Linked DNA regions of Homo sapiens: region 1 is linked to region 2. Evidence: promoter capture Hi-C in human tissues and cell types (Jung and others, 2019). All regions are on one chromosome and are shown on one strand. Each heading gives the region's core, a stretch centred on a gene start or on the middle of the fragment in contact. The rest is flanking DNA. Distances are from core to core; before and after follow the strand shown. Region 1 overlaps TNFRSF8 (TNF receptor superfamily member 8). Region 2 holds the start of NPPA (natriuretic peptide A).

Region 1 (3,948 bases), core at 1,215-3,714, 270 kb after region 2:
ACATCTTTGCGTGTATGTGCTTTCCTTTCTCTTGGGTTGGTTTTGTAAAAAAAATGGATTTGTGGGACTTCTAACAATTTTGGGTTGGAGCTCTTTTCCTATAGTTGTACCTTCTCCCGCTCCATGGCTTTGCTTATTCTCTCTATGATGTCTTTTGTTTGTTTGTTTGTGGTTTGTTTTTTTGAGGTGAGTCTTGCTCTGTCGCCCAGACTGGAGTGCAGTGGCGTGATCTCGGCTCACTGCAACCTCCGCCTCCTGGGTTCAAGCAATTCTCCTGCCTCAGCCTCCCGAGTAGCTGGGATTACAGGCGCCTGCCACCACATTTGGCTACTTTTCTTTTTTTTAGTAGAGACGGGGTTTCACCATGTTGGCCAGGCTGGTCACAAACTCCTGGCCTCAAGTAATCCACCCGCCTCAGCCTCCCAAAGTGCTGGGATTACAGACGTGAGCCACCGCGCCCGGCCCACACCAGTCTTTAAAAGAGGGAGGCAGGAGGCACCCAGCCCCTCCCTGCCCAATACCATTCTGAACAGGAGTTACGCTAGTGTGCTGAGCTCTCAGGGAAGCTGTTCCCAAAGTTTTGAGCAGGGGAGTGACAGAGCCATGAGACAGGGTTGGGGGAAGCTGTGGCATGGTGGCCTCAGGAGGAACAGTGGGCAGGGGCTGGTTGGGGGGCAATGAGTACCCTCCTCTCGTGTGGAATGCACGCAGCATTCCTGTCCTCTCTGAGCCTCAGGACTCCCTCTGAAAGGCTGGACTGAGCTGACATGCGGAGTTTGGGAGCTGGCCACGGTGAGGGATGGGGGGCTTCAGGGTTGGGTGGGGAGTGAGGCCTTTGCCAAGGCGGCCTGGCCTGCAGCTTCTCTGCTTCTTTCCCCAGGTCTGTCCCCAACACAGCCATGCCCAGAGGGGTCTGGTGATTGCAGAAAGCAGTGTGAGCCCGACTACTACCTGGACGAGGCCGGCCGCTGCACGGCCTGCGTGAGCTGTTCTCGAGGTAAGGGCCTCGTCCCTCCCCGGGCCTCAGTTTACCTCTCTGCATTTTTGAACCGTGAACTTCCAGTAACTACTCCCCCTTATGTTTGTGGGTTTTTGATGGGGGTCGCCTCTTTTCAGAGGGCTTCCATTGGCATATTATTTCCTTCCAGGAAGCGTTTGTGAATCACCCACCTGTTCCAAACTCGGCTCATCAATGTTTGTAACTACTCTGTGATTCAAGCATTGTGATCATTCCCCTTTTACAGAGGAGGAAACGGAGGCTTTGGGAAGTCAGGGAACTTCCAAGGGCTGTGGGCTGGAGTTTGAACCCAGACAGGTGCCACCAGGTTCCAGGTTCTCGTCCACTCCACTCGCTGCCCCTATGAGCCACTTATTCTTTTTTTTTTTTTCCCAGACAGGGTCTCACTCCTTCACCCAAGCTGCAGTACGGTGGTGGGATCATAGCTCCCTGCAGCTGTGACCTCCCAGGATCACATGATCCTTTTGCCTCAGCCTTTCAAGTGGCTGGGACTATAGGTGCACACTACCATGCCTGGCTAATTAAAAAAAATTTTTTTTCATACAGATGGGGGTCTCACTATGTTGCCCAGGCTGCTCTCGAACTCCTGGACTCAAATGGTCCTCCCACCTTGGCTTCCTAAATTGCTGGGATTATAGGCATGAGCCACCATGCCCGGCCTGCGAGCTGTTTTGACAAGCACTTACTGAGTGCACAGACACAGCACGATGCAGGTGTGGGGCTTCCCTGTGCCCAGCCCATCACAACCTCCCAGCGCCAGCAGCACCCCGAGGGGCATGTGGGCAGGGGGTGTTGCTCAGGCCACAGGCTGCTGTGACTGTTAGAGGCCCTGGCTATTCACGGAGGCCACTGGGAATGTGTGTCTGTCTCCTTGTCCAGAGCTGCTTTTGGGCAGCAAAGCAGAGTGAAGGGTCAGGGGAGGCCAAAAAGAACCACAGACACTGTTTGTTGTCATTGGAGGTCTCTGTCCTAGTTACTAAGGCTGCATAGCAAATTTTCTTAAAACTTAATTGTGAAAACAAATCATTCTTTGTACTCACAGATTCTGTGAGTCAGAATTCAGACAGGGCACTGCGGGGACAGCTTGTCTCTGCTCCACAATGTCTGAGGTCTTAGCTGGAAAGCCCAAAAGCTGCAGATCAGGAACTTCTGAAGCTTCATTCATTCACCTGCCTTGGGGTTGATGTTGGCTCCTGGCTGCAGCCTTGGTTCCCTTCCATGTCGGCCTCTTCGTGTCTTACCTGGGGCTTCCTCATGGTCTGGTGGTTAGGTTCTAAAGGCGAAGTCTTTTTCTCTTTTTTTCTTTTTTTGTATTTTTAGTAGAGACGGGGTTTCACCATGTTGGCCAGGCTGGTCCCAAACTCCTGGCCTCAAGTGATCCGCCGGCCTTGGCCTCCCAAAGTGTTGGAATTACAAGCATGAGCCATTGCCCCCGGCCATAAAAGTCTTGAGAGAGAGAGACAGACAGAAAGAGAGAGTGAGAGAGAGACAGAAAGAGGGAGAGAAAGAGTGAGAGAGAGAAAGAGAGAGACAGAGAGAAAGAGACAGAATGAGAGGGAGAGAGAGAGTGAGAGAGAGACAGAAAGAGGGAGAGAGAGAGACAGAAAGAGAAAGAGACGGAGTGAGCGAGAGAGAGAGAGACAGAAAGACAGAAAGAGAGACTGAGAGACAGAGAGAGACAGAGATAGAGTGTGACAGAGAGAAAGACAGAGAAAGAGAGAGAGAGAGACAGAAAGAGAGAGAGAGAGACAGACAGAGGCAGCAGCCACCCCTCCTTTTATGACCTGGCCTTGGAAGTCACACAGAACTTCTACCACTTTCTGTTTGTTGAGGCAACCACAAATGTCACTTGAGACCAAGGGAAGGAAAACAGTTGTACTTCTTGACAGGTAGGTGGCAAAGGCTCTGGAAGGGCCAGAACATCACTGCAGCCATGTTTTGGGGAAATACAGTCTGCCACAACCACCATGTGGACATATGGAGAAAGAGGTGTTGGCTCTGGGCCCAGTAATTCCTTCAGCTCTCCTAACTGAAACCCCACGAGGCAGTGGAGTGGTGTATTAGTAGCTAAAGGCATGAGCTCTAGAACCCGAGTGCCGGGTTCAGATCCCGCCTCTCCCACTTGATAGCCTATAACCTCAAGCAGGTTTCCTAACCTCTCTGTGCCTCAGTTTCCTCTGCTGCAAAATGGGCATAGTATTATCTATCTCAGAGAACCATGTGAGAATTGAATACATGATTGTAGGTTAATCTGGGTAGAGTGCTGAGACTACTGTCTCACACATACTCAGTTATCTTAAGAGCTATAATAATAATGATAATAGCTGCCATTGTCCCAAATGGTTTCATTCATTGCTGAGCTCACACACACCCTTTGCACAAATTCCCCAAATCCTGCCCAGTTCCCTTGCTCTGGATGTTGTAAGAAGAGACTGTCCAGCCCTTATCATTATCATGCTGGGTCTCTAAGTATCCTGCTGATTGAGATCTACCCTCGCGGAGAGGTCCCATTTGCCTAATCTACTGATGCAGTCGTTCTGTATTTACCTCTAAGTGGAGCGTTGCAAAATATTCCCGAATACGTACAAATGCATTATTACACTTATTAAAAATAATACCTCTAACATGGTTTTTTTTTGCTTTTGGAGGAAAAAAAATCTTTTTTTTTTTTTTTTTTTTTTTTTTTTTAAATAGACAGAGTCTTGTTCTGTCGCCCAGGCTGGAGTGCAGTGGCACTATCTTGGCTCACTGCAACCTCTGCCTCCCAGGTTCAAGTGATTCTCCTGCCTCAGCCTCCTGAGTAGCTGGGATTACAGGCACGTGCCACCAGGCATGGCTAATTTTTGTATTTTTAGTAGAGACGGGGTTTCACCATGTTGGTCAGGCTGGACTTGAACTCCTGACCTTGTGATCTGCCTGCCTCGGCCTCC
Region 2 (3,853 bases), core at 62-2,561:
CACCACGCCTGGCTAATTTTTTGTATTTTTAGTAGAGACGGGGTTTCACCGTGTTAGCCAGGATGGTCTCCATCTCCTGACCTCGTGATCCACCCGCCTTGGCCTCCCAAAGCGCTGGGATTACAGGCGTGAGCCACCGTGCCTGGCCTTTTTTTTTTTTTTTTGAGACAGTCTCGCTCTATCACCTAGGCTGGACTGCAGTGGCGTGATCTCTGCTCACTGCAACCTCTGCCTCCTGGGTTCAAGTGATTCTCCTGCCTCAGCCTCCCAAGTAGCTGAGAGTACAGGTGCCCGCCACCACACCCAGCTAATTTTTGTATTTTTAGTAGAGCTGGGGTTTCACCATGTTGGCCAGGATAGTCTTGATCTCTTGACCTCATGATCCGCCTGCCTCGGCCTCCCAAAGTGCTGGGATTACAGGCGTGAGCCACTGTGCCCAGCCCCCCCCCCTTTTTTTTTTAAGCATTTTCTCAGCAGACTAGCTAAGGACAATAGATGGCATGTCCTGACACCCATGGGGCACTCTGGGTGTTGGGGCAGAAACTTGAGAGGGAATGAGCTTCTGCATTGGTCCCTTTCCTGCTGAAGGTGTCTCCCAGTAGTGTCCATCCCATCCCATTTCCATCCCCAGTTCCTCTTACCCGGAAGCTGTTACAGCCCAGTCCGCTCTGGGCTCCAATCCTGTCCATCCTGCCCCCGAAGCAGCTGGATCTCCGCAGGCTCCGAGGGGCAGTGAGCAGCGCCCTCAGCTTGCTTTTTAGGAGGGCAGATCGATCAGAGGAGTCCCAGGGGCCCCGCCCGAGGGCACCTCCATCTCTCTGGGCTGGGCTGACTTCCCCGGTCCAGGGAGGCACCTCAGGGAGGGGGCTGAGAGCAGCCCCCGCTTCTTCATTCGGCTCACTGAGCACTTGTGGGGGCACGACCTCATCTTCTAAAGGCATCTTTTCTTCCAAATGGTCCAGCAAATTCTTTAGAAAAGGAAAATACAGGGAAAGGGATAAACCTCACTGACTTGGAGGAAATCAAGAGGAGTGAGCACAGCATCAGAAAGCCCCCTGGCCCCAGACTGCACCCGCTTTCCTGGCCCTACCTTGAAATCCATCAGGTCTGCGTTGGACACGGCATTGTACATGGGATTAGCTCTGGTCTGACCTAGGAGCTGGAATGCCAGTAAAAGGAGGAAGCTCACGGTGGTGGTGGAGAAGGAGCTCATGCTGGCGTCGTCAAGGAGCAATCCACTGCTTGCTGCTCTGTCTCTCCCCTCTGGTTCCTCTCTGGTTCCCCTCTCTTGGCCTACGTCTGTCCCTGTCTCCCAGCTGCCCAGTGCCGCCTCTTTTTATAGCCCCCCAGCTCTCCAAGCACGCAGGAGAGACAGAACCCTCCCCATTCTGTCACTTGCAGTGATAAAGCTGCCAAGTGAGAAGCCAGCAGGAGATGCCCTTTTAAAGTTATCATCCCGCAGGGCTTGTCACAGCCCCTCTCTGCCTTGGGCAGCCCCAACAGCCCCCCAGACCCTCAGCTGCAAGAGCCGCATTCTTACTGATTTGACTCAAGAGGCTCCCACTTCAAAGGTGTGAGAAGAGTAAAAAAGAGTCCTTGGTTATCTCACCGCCGTGCCTCAGGATTCTTTCTCCTCGACGCTGGTACCCGTGCGGGGAAACAGAGGGTGACGCTTGGCTGGTGCCCAGCTCCCCTGGTTTGTTTGTGGCTCAGCTGTCAGGGCCTCCAAATAAGGGTGGAGAGGAGGAAATGGCAGGCAGCCAGCAGCCCGAGACAAATGGATCCAGATGCTCAAGCTGGCCTCACACCTGCCTCATCCGCCACGTGGGCAGACCTCTGGCCTCAGACAGGGCTGCCTTCACCCCTGGCAGTCCCTCTCCATGGTCAGGCGAAAGGAAGTTATTTTTTAGTATATAAAGTCAGCTGAGAACCAAATGTGATGAAGCTCCCAGGAATCCAACCCCCAAATAGAAATAGCAAGAAAAGGCGGGGGAGCACAAGCATCCTCTCTCCAAAGCTCCTCCTCTTCCATGTCCCCCGCGACCCTCCTCCAGCATGCTGCGGGGACAGGCTTAGAGGACGCAGCCAATTTCATTTCTTCCGTTGCTGTTTATAGATGCTCAGACTCTTCGTGTCTGAAGTTTGTTAACATCCCCCTGCCCTTCCTGGGCTTGTGCCCGTGGCAACTTGACCGATGGAGGAAGGGAGGTGGGGGTGAAGGAGGTATAGTCAGTTTCCCTCAATGCCTTCTACATCCTTCCCTGAGGACGTGGCAAGTGGCAAGTGACCGAGCCACCAAGGTCACAATTTCCCTGGCCCCCAAAAGGGAAATAACAGGCAGCAAGTCTGTCTATGTTTAATGAATGGCCTGTTTGCTAAGCACTGAACTCAGTGTTAGCCATTACCATTCAATGCAACGTATACTGGGGGAAAACTCTAAATTTGAAGGGCTGAGAGACCAGTACTGTAGCCCAAAACAAACCAGTTGCATACCTCTTCGCAGCCTTACTTTCCTTGTGTGTAAAATGAGAAAGAATGTTAAAAACCGGCCGGGTGCAGTGGCTCACACGTATAATCCCAGCACTTTGGGAGGCTAAGGTGGGTGGATCACCTGAGGCCAGGAGTTTGAGACCAGCCCTACCAACATGGCAAAACTCTGTCTCTACTAAAAATATAAAAATTAGCTGGGTGTGGTGGCATGTGCCTGTAATCCCCGCTACTAGGGAGGCTGAGGTAAAAGAATTGCTTGACCTTGGGAGGCGGAGGTTGTAGTGAACCAAGATCGCACCACTGCACTCTAGCCTGGGCAACAGAGTGGGACTCGGTCTCAAAAAATAAATAAATAAATGAATGAATAAAGTAGAAATCTTCCCTGCCTACCTTGCAGGATTGTTGTGGAGCCCAAGTGAGCTGAGAACGTGTCAACACATAACAAGTGTGCAGTGCTGAGTCCCTGCAAGATGGCCATCATAGTTGTCTTTATTGGTTGCTTGTAGCATGCCTAGCACTGTGCTGAGAACTTTATGGAAATGATTTTATTTTGATCACCATCCCCAGGTGGTAGATAGCATTGTCCTTGCTTACAAGGGAACAGAACTGAGCCCGAGAGGCTATGCCACTTGCCCAAGGCCACTAGGTGCCTAAGTGGCGGAACCAGGACTGGATCCCCAGGTCTGACGCTGATGTCTGTATCCTAGCCTATTTCACGTAGAGAGCTGCCACCTTACCTCTTAGCTGCATTCCCCAATTAAACCCCCATTCCCCATCTTTCAGATGCCCCAAGGGAGCTCCTTCACCTTCCCCATGCCCCTGGGGCTGTAGCTTTTTTGTGCACTTACCAAGTCTGTGTGTGTTGGCTGCTCTCCTGATCTATTTCTACACCGAATGTGTTTTAATCCACTCCTTAGAAGCTCAGAAAATGTGTGTTGAGTGACCAGCTCTGTCCTGGCTGGCCAGATCTGTCCCCAGGTGTGCTGACCTCATGACTGACCAGGTGAACAGGACGTTGTGCAGCCATAAGGTTGGAAATCAGGGCAGCAAGTGACTAGAGGTCACAAGAGGTATCCAGGGTGATATTATTCTAAGATAAGATAAAAGGGACCCTCTTTGGCAAGCCTTGGGGTTTGTCTGTAGGTGGGGATCTAATATTTCATGGGGTGGTTAGAAGCAGCCTGTAGGAGTGAGAGAGAAGAAAAGTAACAGGCACAGAAAGCCAGGCCCACCTCCATCCCCACCTCTTCCACGGCTGAAAAATCAAAAGCCTTTTATTTCCTTATCACTGGAAAGAAGTCATCTTAGTCATACAACGGGTGGAGCACTGCAAACGGGTGGGAGAATCCAGAATCCGGGTGTT

The links. The method cuts DNA at HindIII sites, captures the fragments that hold promoters and counts their contacts. A contact is called where the count stands out against the background at its distance.
Region 1: a contact is called between a fragment that was not itself captured here and the fragment with the promoter of NPPA in region 2, in 1 of the 25 tissues and cell types used here (bladder).

Annotation. Positions count from the first base shown.
Region 1 is chr1:12,111,018-12,114,965 of GRCh38, forward strand. TNFRSF8 (TNF receptor superfamily member 8) reads left to right here. Exons shown (of 15, transcript NM_001243.5): 7 at 881-997. Among named protein-coding and RNA genes, the nearest start is that of TNFRSF8, 50 kb to the left of the region's middle. The HindIII fragment of the contact is 4,748 bases long and covers 91-3,948 here.
Region 2 is chr1:11,846,472-11,850,324 of GRCh38, forward strand. NPPA (natriuretic peptide A) reads right to left here and starts at 1,312. Exons shown (of 3, transcript NM_006172.4): 1 at 1,091-1,312; 2 at 642-968. The coding sequence starts at 1,213. It also overlaps NPPA-AS1. RefSeq lists an enhancer at 348-2,138. The HindIII fragment of the contact is 8,124 bases long and covers 1,050-3,853 here.